2 separate regions of the Homo sapiens genome follow, and region 1 is linked to region 2. Evidence: promoter capture Hi-C in 16 types of primary human blood cells and fetal thymus (Javierre and others, 2016). All regions are on one chromosome and are shown on one strand. The core of a region is centred on a gene start or on the middle of the fragment in contact, and the rest is flanking DNA. Distances in the headings are between cores, read along the strand shown. Region 1 overlaps CRBN (cereblon). Region 2 holds the start of BHLHE40 (basic helix-loop-helix family member e40).

Region 1 (5,620 bases), core at 2,155-4,654, 1.8 Mb after region 2:
GTGAGAAATGAGATTCAGTAATTCTTTATTGTTAGTCTAGGCCAGGGTCTCCCAACCTCAGCACTGGACTTTTGGGCTGGAGAATTCTTTGGGTGGGATTGTCTCGTGCATTGTAGGATATTTAGCTGCATCCCTGGCCTCTACCCACTAGATGCCAGTAGGACTCCCTTAGTTATTGCAACCAATATCCCCTGAGGGGCAAAATCACCTGTGGTTGAGAGTCACTGGTCTAGGATAGGAAATTTACTCATAGTTTGTATGAAAAGGACAGACTCACAGTTAGTACAATAGCATATGTATTGTGTAGCGTTTTCTAATTTTCTTTGCTGTCATTGGTAACATCTGGTTTTCTAAGACATTCTTTTAAAATGTTTTATGCTTCATGCAAACTTTATTTTTAAATTTAAAATTAAGCAAAATAGTATGCAAATGATTGCAAAATTTTCTTTGTTTCTTTCTTTTGAGATGGAGTCTTGCTCTGTCGCCCAGGCTGGAGTGCAATAGCACAATCTCAGCTCACTGCAACCTCCACCTCCTGGGTTCAAGCGATTCTCCTGCCTCAGCCTCCCCAGTAGCTGGGATTACAGGCACCTACAACCACACCCGGCTAACTTTTGTGTTTTTAGTAGAGATGGGGTTGCAACATGTTGGCCAGGCTGGTCTTGAACTCCTGACCTCAAGTGATCTGCCTGCCTCGTCCTCCCAAAGTGCTGGGATTACAGGTGTGAGCCACCACACCTGGCCTTCATTTTAAGATAATGTAGCGACTGCCAGGGAAATGTTGTCACTAGAAAAATGCTGTGAAATTCTTCCTGCTAGGTTATCTTTCTCTCAGTTTTAATTAACAGATCTTGCCTGCTTTGTTTCTTTTCTTACTTATGTAGGAACTGATTGAAGTTGAGAGTTTGAGAGAACGTTAGAGGTTGACTTGTTGAAGCCTATCATTTTGCAGATGAGGAAACTAAAATTTAATTGGGCAGAATGAGTTGTCTAAGGTGTTAAAATTAGTTACTGGTGAGGGAGAAGAGAAAAATCTCCCATATAGAAGAATTTTAAATAACTTACATTTCCTCTTCAAGGGAGTGGAGCATAACTCATCACCCCTGAAGTGGAGGCTACACCTAGTGATTTGCTTCCGAAGGGTACAATGTGAAAAGGAGGGGGGAAAGGAACTTTACAGCGGAAAAACCTGACACACACTGCTGTAGCCAGGTGATCAAGGTTAACAGCAGGAATAGTTCATAATATATAGGCTGGATATGTAATAAAAACAGCACATTGGCAACAGACCCCATTTCTAAAAAGGAAAAGAATAACAACACTTCACTTCTGTGGTCTTCCTCCCTAAAACACGTATCCTCAGTCTAATCATGGGAATTACATCAAACAAAACCCAGTTGAGGGATACTCTACAAAAGGCCTGACCAGTACTCCTCAAAACTCAGAAACAAGCAAAGTCTGAAAACCCCCCTAGCCCAGAGGAGGGTAGGGGGACCTGATAACTAAATGTAAAGTGGGATCCTGGAACGCAAAAAGACTAGATAAAAACTAAGGGAATCCATTTAAAATATGAAGCTTAGTTAGAGTAATGTACCAAGACTGATTCCTTCGTTGTGGCAAATGTACCATACTAATATAAATTAACTATAGGGGAAAAGGATGTGTGACACACGGGAGCATTCTGTACTATCTTTACACTTCTCTGTAAATGTTAAACTATTCTAAAATTCACAGTTGACTTAAAAAAAAAAAATAGCTACTGACAGAGCCCAGCACGGACCCCAGTCCTCTGGCTCCCTCTTCACGGTGCTGTAGAGTTTACCAAATGCATGTGGTTTTAGAAGTACCCCTCTTTTGAAGAAGGAATTACATGTTTGAAAGGTTTTCATTCATCTTTTTTTTTTTCTTACAATATTCTACTTTTATAGCAGAGAGTGAGGAAGAAGATGAAATGGAAGTTGAAGACCAGGATAGTAAAGAAGCCAAAAAACCAAACATCATAAATTTTGACACCAGTCTGCCGACATCACATACAGTATGTAATTTAGTGACAGATCTAATATAATAGATATACATTTAAATGTAGATAAAAGTTCATAAAAACAAGTGACTGATATTTGTATTACTAGATATCAGAAATTGTGGATGAGGACATGGGCTATTTGCCAGTAGATAAACATTTAACTGTAATTTTTAAGAAGCTTAATACTATGTTGTGGTAGAATTGTTTGAGGAATTGTTGCTCTTTATACTCTTTCTGGTAATTGAGCTATTAAATACTTCTCTGTACTTCTAGGTACTAGAGTGTTATTGAACATACTAACATTTTATACTTACTGTTTGTGATATGTGGGCATAGAGATATTTCTTGGTAAAAATAATACTTTGTACTAAAAAAATTCTTGAATTTCTGTGTTTGTGATATATTCATAAAAGATTAGAAATTCTTCTAAGAGTTAAAGTTAGATTAAAAATTATATTTTAACATGGGATGCTTATATACCACGTTTATTAAGTGTTTGTAACCCCATTTGTATTTTTTTCTTTTTTTTTGAGACAGAGTGTTGCTCTGTCGCCCAAGCTCGAGTGAGTGCAGTGGCACAATCTCAGCTCACTGCAGCCTCCACCTTCCAGGTTCAAGTGATTCCCCTGCCTCAGCCTCCCGATTAGCTGGGATTACAGGTGTCCACCACCACACCTGGCTAATTTTTGTATTTTTAGTAGCAACAGGGTTCCACCATGTTGGCCAGGTTGGTCTTGAACTCCTGACCTCAGGTGATCCGCCTACCTCGGCCTCCCAAAGTGCTGGAATTACAGGTGTGAGCCACTGTGCCCGGCCTGTATTTCTTTTAATGTGATTTGCTCTTTAGTCTGTTGAGCTTACATTTTTATTACATATCGATCATGACACTATACCTATATATGTTTTTATATAGTACCTAGGTGCTGATATGGAAGAATTTCATGGCAGGACTTTGCACGATGACGACAGCTGTCAGGTGATTCCAGTTCTTCCACAAGTGATGATGATCCTGATTCCCGGACAGACATTACCTCTTCAGCTTTTTCACCCTCAAGAAGTCAGTATGGTGCGGAATTTAATTCAGAAAGATAGAACCTTTGCTGTTCTTGCATACAGGTAAAATATTAGAGTCCATTTGCTTAATACATTCCCTCTCATGGGTAATTGCAGTGGTCAGTGTTGAAGCCAAAGCAGGCTGTTATTTCGCATGTACAGGAGAGGTTGGGTAAGAATGTGAGGTTAGGAATTTGGTTAAGTAGAAGTTTGATAGTGCAAGTTGGAGTATTTTTGTTCATTTCATTACCATCTAACTCAGCTCTTCACCTTCATACACAATTTAACTTTCTGGTATTTGAAAAATTTTTAATCATTTATATTTGATGAAAAACATTTCTGGAATCTTAGTTTCAATAACTGTCTTCATTATAGAGAAGTAGTGCTTTTTTATTTTAACGTAAAGGATTACTTTTCCAAAAGAGTGGTCTTTTCTTTCCCTCTCTCTCAAAATTCATAGGTTGTACCACTTTAAATTGAAGCTGAATTTTAAGTATCCCATGGCAAATAAAGGAAATCTGCGGTAGAGGCAGGAAATACATACAGGAAGCTCCCACCCCAGTACAGTGCTGCCAGTAAGCAGCAGAAATGATAAGTCATTTGACAGAGTGAAAGAATGTTTGGTTTGGGAAATGAGTTTAAACCCCTGTAAGTTCTAAATTATTTTCAGTGACTAGAAATCTATTATTTTCCTAAAGTTCTCTAATTGTACTTCCTGAGTCCTTCTTGTATATCCCCCATGTGATTTAAAAATAAATAAAATTGGCCGGGCATGGTAGCTCACGCCTATACTCCCAGCACTTTGGGAGGCCGAGGCGGGTGGATCACCTGAGGTCGGGAGTTTGAGACCAGCCTGACCAACATGGTGAAACCCCGTCTCTACTAAAAATACAAAAATTAGCCAGGCGTGGTGGTATGTGCCTGTAATCCCAGCTACTCAGGCAGCTGGGGCAGGAGAATCACTTGAACCTGGGAGGCAGAGGCTGCAGCAAGCCGAGCTCATGCCACTGCTCTCTAGTCTGGGCAACGCAGCGAGACTCCATCTCAAACAAATAAATAAATAAATAAAATTATCCTAGCTTTGTAGTAAGGGTTGATTCTATAAATTGTTTACCTGTATTTATTGCTTTGCCTACTTTGCATATATTTAAAACTCAAATGTTCAAAATTCTTTCCTTTTAAAATTTTCTTGGAAGCAATGTACAGGAAAGGGAAGCACAGTTTGGAACAACAGCAGAGATATATGCCTATCGAGAAGAACAGGATTTTGGAATTGAGATAGTGAAAGTGAAAGCAATTGGAAGACAAAGGTTCAAAGTCCTTGAGCTAAGAACACAGTCAGATGGGTAAGAAATAACATATACCTTAATGCTCTTTGAATGTTTCCTAATGAAATAGTTTTCTTGTACTTTTTCTGTTCTACTGAGCCTTCATATTTTGTAACTTTTAACTAGTTGTTCTCTTTCCCTTCTAAGGTATAGCCCAGTGGTTTCCAACCTTGCTATGCATCAGAATCACCTGGGAAGCTTTTAAAACTATAGAAGCTTGAGTTCCAACCTCATCTCCCATCTCCAGAGAGTGATGAGGCTGCAGCATCTTTTAAAAATGATTTTCAGGTGATTCTAATGTCTCTCCAGGTTTGAGAACAATCATGTAAATCCAAAGGGAAGTGTTGTTTGGGATTTGGCTTCTTTAGGATTGAAGGCCTCTCGGAGCATAAGAGGATAGGGAGACCAGAGGCTTGTGAGCTGTTCGTGTGCTCACCAGGACAGCTGTGGTTTTTGTAGCATTGCTATGATGTTTGAAAGCCACACTGGTTACATCTGCCTACTGCTCCAGCTGAGCTATAAAAGCCATTTATATTTCGTGTCCCTCTCCAGTGTGAATTTTATATCACCCAGAAATGCTATTTACATAATAAATGATCAATAAATACTTGTAGTCTATGTGCCTTGTGACATTTAGAAATTCCCTGAGTATACTGTTTCAGCAGTAATTCATTTTGACAAAGCTGTCATGGCTGGGTTTTGCACAAATTCAAGGGATACACATTAAAACAGACACAAAAAAGTCCAGTTTATTTTATCCTCTTTTAAAAAGGAAACAAAGCATTTGCCTTGATCACTGGATATTACCTCTTAACGGAGTGCTTCTAAACTGTGGCATCACCCGTGAGGTCTCACAGATACACAGTCCTGGTACGCAATACAAGTACTAGTGAATTGGTTTCCAATTTATACCCACAGTTGAAAATCTCATCAGACCTCTGTGTTGCCCAGGTGGTATCTTCTGAACACATGCAAGTTCTGAGTATTTTGGGGTTTTTTTGGGCGGGGTGGGGGATTAAGACTGAAAAAACAATGTGAGCAGCATGAGGGCAGGAACGTTTTGTCTGTTTTGTTCACATGGTGGGCGTTCCTATATATTTTTGAATTATGAAAATATTGACATGTCAGGTAGCTCCTTGGAGCTAAAGAGAGCATAGAGGCATGTGAGATGGGATTGCCAGAGCTCTTAGGGTGTTTAGTTCTCCCCAGGTACTTT
Region 2 (5,701 bases), core at 1,047-3,546:
ATATCTTATCATTTCACTAATACGTATTCATGCCAGGTGGCACAATGCATTTCAAATGAAAAGTCTGACCTTTTAGGAAAGATAAAACTGCATCTCCCCCAATGAACGTGCATAAGCAATTTGTTGCAGTAATGTTTATTACATCAGATGTTGAGCCCACGGGCTCTCTATTTGCACTCAAACTCTTAAAGAGAGCATAGCCAGAATCAGCACTCACCAGCTTGTAAACCACTCTGCAGGGCAATGATTTTCTGCTGCTGCTGATCAATTAGGTTTGTTAGTGCTTTCACATGCTTCAAGGTAAGTTCAAGAACCACTGCTTTTTCCAAGTGACCCAAAGTCTGGAAGGAAAAGAGCCTTAGTCAGCGGTGAGGTCAGAGAAGTCCCACCTTTGGGACATTTATTAGCAATGAGAAATGAGAAAAGAAAAAAAAAAGTGGAATAGTGTTTCCTGGTTGGCTGTTTTAAGTCTGTAGGTCATGCTTTTAAAAAGATAGACAGATACACTCATATATGTGTGTGTGTGTGTGTGTGTGTGTGTGTGTGTATATATATATAATATATATATATAATTAAATAATTTAAAAAAACGGGTGCCACCTGTCTTTGGAGGCATTTTGGAAGCTGCAACTACCTCAGGAAAATCCTTTGACAGATAAATTTCTCCAGCAGCCTCTGCCGACCTTAACTCAGGGGAATCCAGAGATAACATTTTCCTGCAGTGGTGTCAACTCAGAGAGGGACCTCTATTACGTCTGGCAGCCAAGAGGCTTTCCCTACTTCTTTCCTTACACCCTTTCAGAACTTCCAGCTCATCCAGGCTTTTTTGTTCCTCCCGAAATACTATTTTTTTTTTTTCCATTTCCCCAACCAAAGGCTGCGAAGTAGCCGAGGGCTACTGTCAAGAAAGGACAGGCCGTAAAAATCACACACCAAAGCAAGTCCCCTTATTTGACAACAACAACAAAAAAGGTGGGGGGAGTGGTAGAGGGGAAGGGGTAAATAAAATGTGTGTGTTTCTTGGCGTGTTCCTTTAAGTGAGAAAAACTAGGGAATCCTGAAAATCACCAGAAGTTAAACTCCTGAAAAGGAAGGCCAGTTGGTGTTGGAGCCAACTTGGAGAGGTCCAAGTGGTTCTCGCCTCATTTGCATGAGTCAGCCAGAAAACGCCAGGACTGTGGAGGAGGACCCCACCGCAGAGCCACCCGCCAGCTCTGATCCGCCAGTCTGGTCTGCAGTTCCCCGCGGAACCTGCAGGCGGCGAGTGACCCGCCCGCCCTCTGGGCAAAGGACTGGGTTGGAAAGGGGCCAGCTTCTCACTTACTGTAAGTTTGAGATGTTCGGGTAGGAGATCCTTCAGCTGGGCGATGCACTCGTTAATCCGGTCACGTCTCTTTTTCTCGATGAGCCGGTGCGGCAATTTGTAGGTCTCCTGCAAGACGCACGGGGAGGCGGTGGGCGCTTGGGGAAGGAGATGAGAAGCCTATCCTCCCAGCCCCGCAGCAACAGTCCGGCAGAGGAGCAGAGTAGCAGAGTAGCACCCAGAACCATCGTCTGCCCTTTCTTTTCCAAGTCACTCAGAAGAGGCACCGAGCCCACACCCTGCATCCCCTCGCCAACCTCAAAGCGAGAAAACTTTTCTTGGAAACTCAGCGCGCGCGAGGGGCTGAGCGCAGGGTCCCTAGGGGTGCACTTGCTTACCTTGCTGTCCTCGCTCCGCTTTATTCCCCGTCTTGACTTGTACACTTGGTACATGTGGGCAGGGTACATCCTGCAGGAAGAGAGACCAGGAAGGGTCGTGACTGCTTGCGCACGGCTGCAGGCGTTCTGCCGGGCAAGAACCTCCCGGTGCGCCCGGAGCTGCTCCAAGTTGAGAGTGGCGCATAACATGGGGCTGCAGTTGAGGCTTGAAGGGCCAAGGAGTGCCAACTTACCCTGGTAGGTCTCCGTGCTCCAGTCCCGGTGCTTTGGGCAGGCAGGCGGGGGGTGGTTGCGCGCTGGGGATCCGCTCCATGGCGCGGCGAGCCGGGGCCACTGCGCGCTCCTGTCTGCACTAGCGGAGCGTCTGGATGAGGACTGCCCTGGAGAGGGCTTCGGGGGTCTCTCCGCAGATGTTCCTCTGAGTCTGAGCTCTTTGAAATCCCCTGGGCTGCTGGAATCTTCGGCTTTGAGATGCAGCTTCAGTTGGGGGCGTGCATGGCCCGGTGTCCCCGCGGCCTCTGGCTCCGACTCAGCGCACAGACTGGCGGTGTGTGCTCCCTGCGCGGTCTGTCTGCGCCGTGCGAGCCAAGTGAATGAGAAGTGGGGCGGGCGGGGAGGCGGGAGGGAGCGGGTGAGGGGGGGGCGGTTAGGGCGGAGTGGGGGGGTGGGGGGGCAAGCCGAGGAGTAATGGAGAGGCTGCGGGCTGGGTTAAATGGGAGCGAGTGGGTGGGTTGGAGCTACGTGTTCTACCCTGTGACTCCAGGCACGTCTGGCCACTGCCGGGGAGGGAAGGAGCGACCTGCCCGCCCTCCCCCGGCTTCATCACATGAGTCTCACGTGTTGGACAACGCTCCGGCGGCTGCTAGGGAGCCCCCACCCCCAGCCCCGGCCCCCAGGTGTCTGCGGCTGCGGCCGCCTTTCCCCGAAGAGGGGGTGGCAGCACGACCTGGGTCCTGCCCAGTTGGGTGGGGGGCGCGGAAGCTGGAAGGGACGGGGGTGCTGGGGGAGGGGGAGAAGTTGGTAACGTGGGCGAACCTGCCCCAGGGAAATGAAGTAAGTTCCCGTCTCCTGGGAGGGAACGGGGGAGGACGGATCCGCCCGCGTCTGACTCAAGCCGGGAGAGGAATATCCCCTTGCTAGCTCCAGCCCAGCCCTCTTCCTCCTCCCCCGCCCGGCCCGCTTGGAGGAACCGGCGCGCTGCGGAGGGAGTCGCCCGGCCCCCCAGCCTTCCCCAGAGGCTGGGGTTTCTTTCCGTCCTGGCTTCCCTGCCCCCACTGCTCACCCTCGCGTCCAGGAATTGCCCGCCTTGGGGAGGGACCGAGGGGCGGGGCGGATGTCACCCCATGGGAAGCGGGCCGACGGCCAAGCGCAGGGGCAGCTGAGGCTGCCGCCGAGCACGCCGCGCGCACCTGACCGTGGAGGGTGTGAGCCGAGGGCCCCTCGCTCCCAGGAGCTCCGCTCCTGGGCACAACCTGCGGGCGGGCGGGCACCCGGTTGCGCAGCCCCCTGGGTGCCCCAGTGTCACCCCCTTCCTCCCGGCCAGTCAAGCGCAGAAAGATACCGGGCGCTGTGCCCGGCGCTCCCTCCCTCCTCTGCCCCCTCCGGAGCAGAGGCGCCCCGGTCGCCTCCCCTCCGGCTGCAGCGTTACACAACCGCGGCGGCGGCGCCTGCCCTGCAGCAGCGCAGGGCGTGACGCTTCACGTGGCCGGGCTCAGGTCGTAGCACCGCGGACCGCGAGCCTCTCTGCGTTGACCCAGGGACTGAGACCCCGGGGACGTGGCGTGCCAGCCCGGATCGGCCCTCTCCCTGCCTGTTGGGAAGTTCGGCGGCGCTGTTCGCGGTCTGCACCCAGGGCAGGAGGGATGAGAGAGACAAGAAAAAAAAACCGCCTGTTACAGGGAAATCTTAGCAATCATGCGGTCGACACGTATTTCTTGAGCCCCCTGCTCTGCACTAGGCGCTGCACTAGTTGATGAATCCGACACGGATCCTGCCCTTGAACTTGCAGAACCTCTAGGAAGAGGTTAAATTGAGCAATAAAGGAAAGGCAGCCCTGGGAAAATTGTATCGAGGCCACTGGCTGACAGAGGGGAAAAACAATGAGAACTTGTGTTGCTTTGTGTTTTGTTTTTAATTTCATTGTAACCGAGATGCCTAGGTAGAGAAGCGGGGGAGAAGCTAACCCAAAGCCCCAAGCCCGGGGCGGAAGGACCTCCTCCAGCGGCCCCAGATCTCTGCAATCTCACTTAGGCTGCCGGAGGGCCCCACCCACCTCCCCCGGAAAGGTCCGGGCTCTGTGACCTTCTCACTCAGCCGGGAGCAGGGAAAACAGCTGAAACTCCAATCCCGCGGTGTGAGCAGCGCTGATACAGTCAGAGGAGGGAGCCAGTGGAAACTCATGACTAAAATAAGGCCTGGCTGGGGATTTCACTGACCTCTGCGCTCCCCTGCCCTGCAAGTTCGGGGAGTTGAGAGATGACTGTAAGCCCTTCCCACTGCGCTTCGGGTCAGTCACCCCACTGCTGAGTGACCTGGCTGTGGGAAGGATTGAAAAAAAAATGGGGTCACTGCCGAGACTGGGCGAAGAGTAGTAGCCTCGGGTGCAGTTAGGGGATCAGTCTTAACTGGCAGTGCCCTTGACGACCTAGAGAACTGGCATTCACAAGTTGACCAAACTGGCAGTGTATTTCCTTCAGGTCGCCTTGGAGAGCTCCCGCTTCCTGTTTATATTTCACAAGCGTCAAACTCTTTAGCAAGTGTGAGAAATGCCTCCTTTTCTAACTGCTAACTGGCATGACCTCACTTCGGGGCTCAGAGATCCCTCCCTGCCAGAATGTACTTTTGCTGGCCAAAGGCGGGGACCGGGGTCCGCCCTGGAAACGCGCTTTCAATCTTGGGCGACCTGCTTCATTGTGTGATTTTAATAAGGATGAAGGGCTGTCACGGCTGCGTCAAAACCACGGTTCCAGCAGGAAATAAGCACTGGGAGAGGACAGGACACGTACCCCCTTCCGCCGACACCCCCCACCCGATGGCAGGAGGGAGCCCAAACCTTGCAGCTTCCATGGCTCATGGCTCATGACAATATCATTCTTAAAATTCTTTGAGTTTATCAATACGTTTTGCCCTTACCTGCCCTACAACTGTAAATAACAAAATGTATGCATTTCCTACTTTTTATTTGTTCCGAATGTATTCTCAAGCTTCAAGAACGGTTCCCATCCTACCAGACTTCCACCGTATCAGGATTAAAAAACAAAACAAAACTCTGTTATTCTCTCCATAGCTTATGGCTTTTAAAAAATAATAATTTGAACAAACAATTCCTACGTGGCATAGATCTTTCCATCCTGGAGAATGTTACTATTTCAGTCTGTCATCTTTTGTAGATATTAAAAACCTTTCGTATGTCAATTTCTTTGCTCCTCACCACCACCTTTTAGGCAGGTACTAGTATTAGCTCGATGCATTTGACACGTGTTTATTGTTATTCAATGCCAGACACTGAAATAGGCCCTAGGGATGTATAACATATTCTGTTTGGAAAATTGAGGCTCAAGGAGGCTAAATAACCTGCCCCAGGTTATATAGTCTGGGATTCAGTCTGAGACAGGCCCCCAGGTTTGTTGGACTCCAAAGCTTGTGCTCTTAATCACTATACTTACGGTTGCCTGGTAGGGTTGTTTGGGTTGTGCACCGCTCAACTCCAGGGGGAGCTATTCACATTGCAGTCTGTGTGAGAGCACCCTCTGGAGTTGTGCAATGTGGCACTGAGCAGCTGCACTGGGTAATCCTGCCATTTTGTAGCCGTCCCTGCTGTTTTGTCTCTTCTAAGTGGGGAGAGAACATAATTTCGTACAAGAGAAAGATGGGATCTTTCTCTTCTTTCCTATTGGGACTCAGCATCTTGGTGGCCTTACACTGTGTGCTGAATGAGTCTATACTGTTACTATCTATAGTAACTCCCGGGCCCTTCCTGTGCAAGAATTTAGAGCCCCAA

Evidence for each region. Contacts are between HindIII fragments. The CHiCAGO score rates a contact against its expected background, and 5 or more counts as called.
Region 1: a contact is called between a fragment that was not itself captured here and the fragment with the promoter of BHLHE40 in region 2, in 1 of 17 cell types (non-activated CD4 T cells). The highest score is 5.2, in non-activated CD4 T cells.

What each region holds. Positions count from the first base shown.
Region 1 is chr3:3,171,578-3,177,197 of GRCh38, reverse strand. CRBN (cereblon) reads left to right here. Exons shown (of 11, transcript NM_016302.4): 2 at 1,929-2,035; 3 at 2,937-3,139; 4 at 4,273-4,422. Among named protein-coding and RNA genes, the nearest start is that of CRBN, 5.3 kb to the left of the region's middle. The HindIII fragment of the contact is 2,401 bases long and covers 2,204-4,604 here.
Region 2 is chr3:4,976,032-4,981,732 of GRCh38, reverse strand. It overlaps BHLHE40 (basic helix-loop-helix family member e40), which reads right to left and starts at 2,296. Exons shown (of 5, transcript NM_003670.3): 1 at 1,935-2,296; 2 at 1,702-1,771; 3 at 1,325-1,432; 4 at 218-341. The coding sequence starts at 2,014. BHLHE40-AS1 (BHLHE40 antisense RNA 1) reads left to right here and starts at 1,772. Exons shown (of 3, transcript NR_125916.1): 1 at 1,772-1,938. RefSeq lists enhancers at 1,313-1,907, 2,015-2,164, 3,465-3,584, 3,715-3,764, 3,885-4,074 and 1 more and silencers at 2,315-2,374, 2,585-3,354. The HindIII fragment of the contact is 7,213 bases long and covers 1-4,906 here.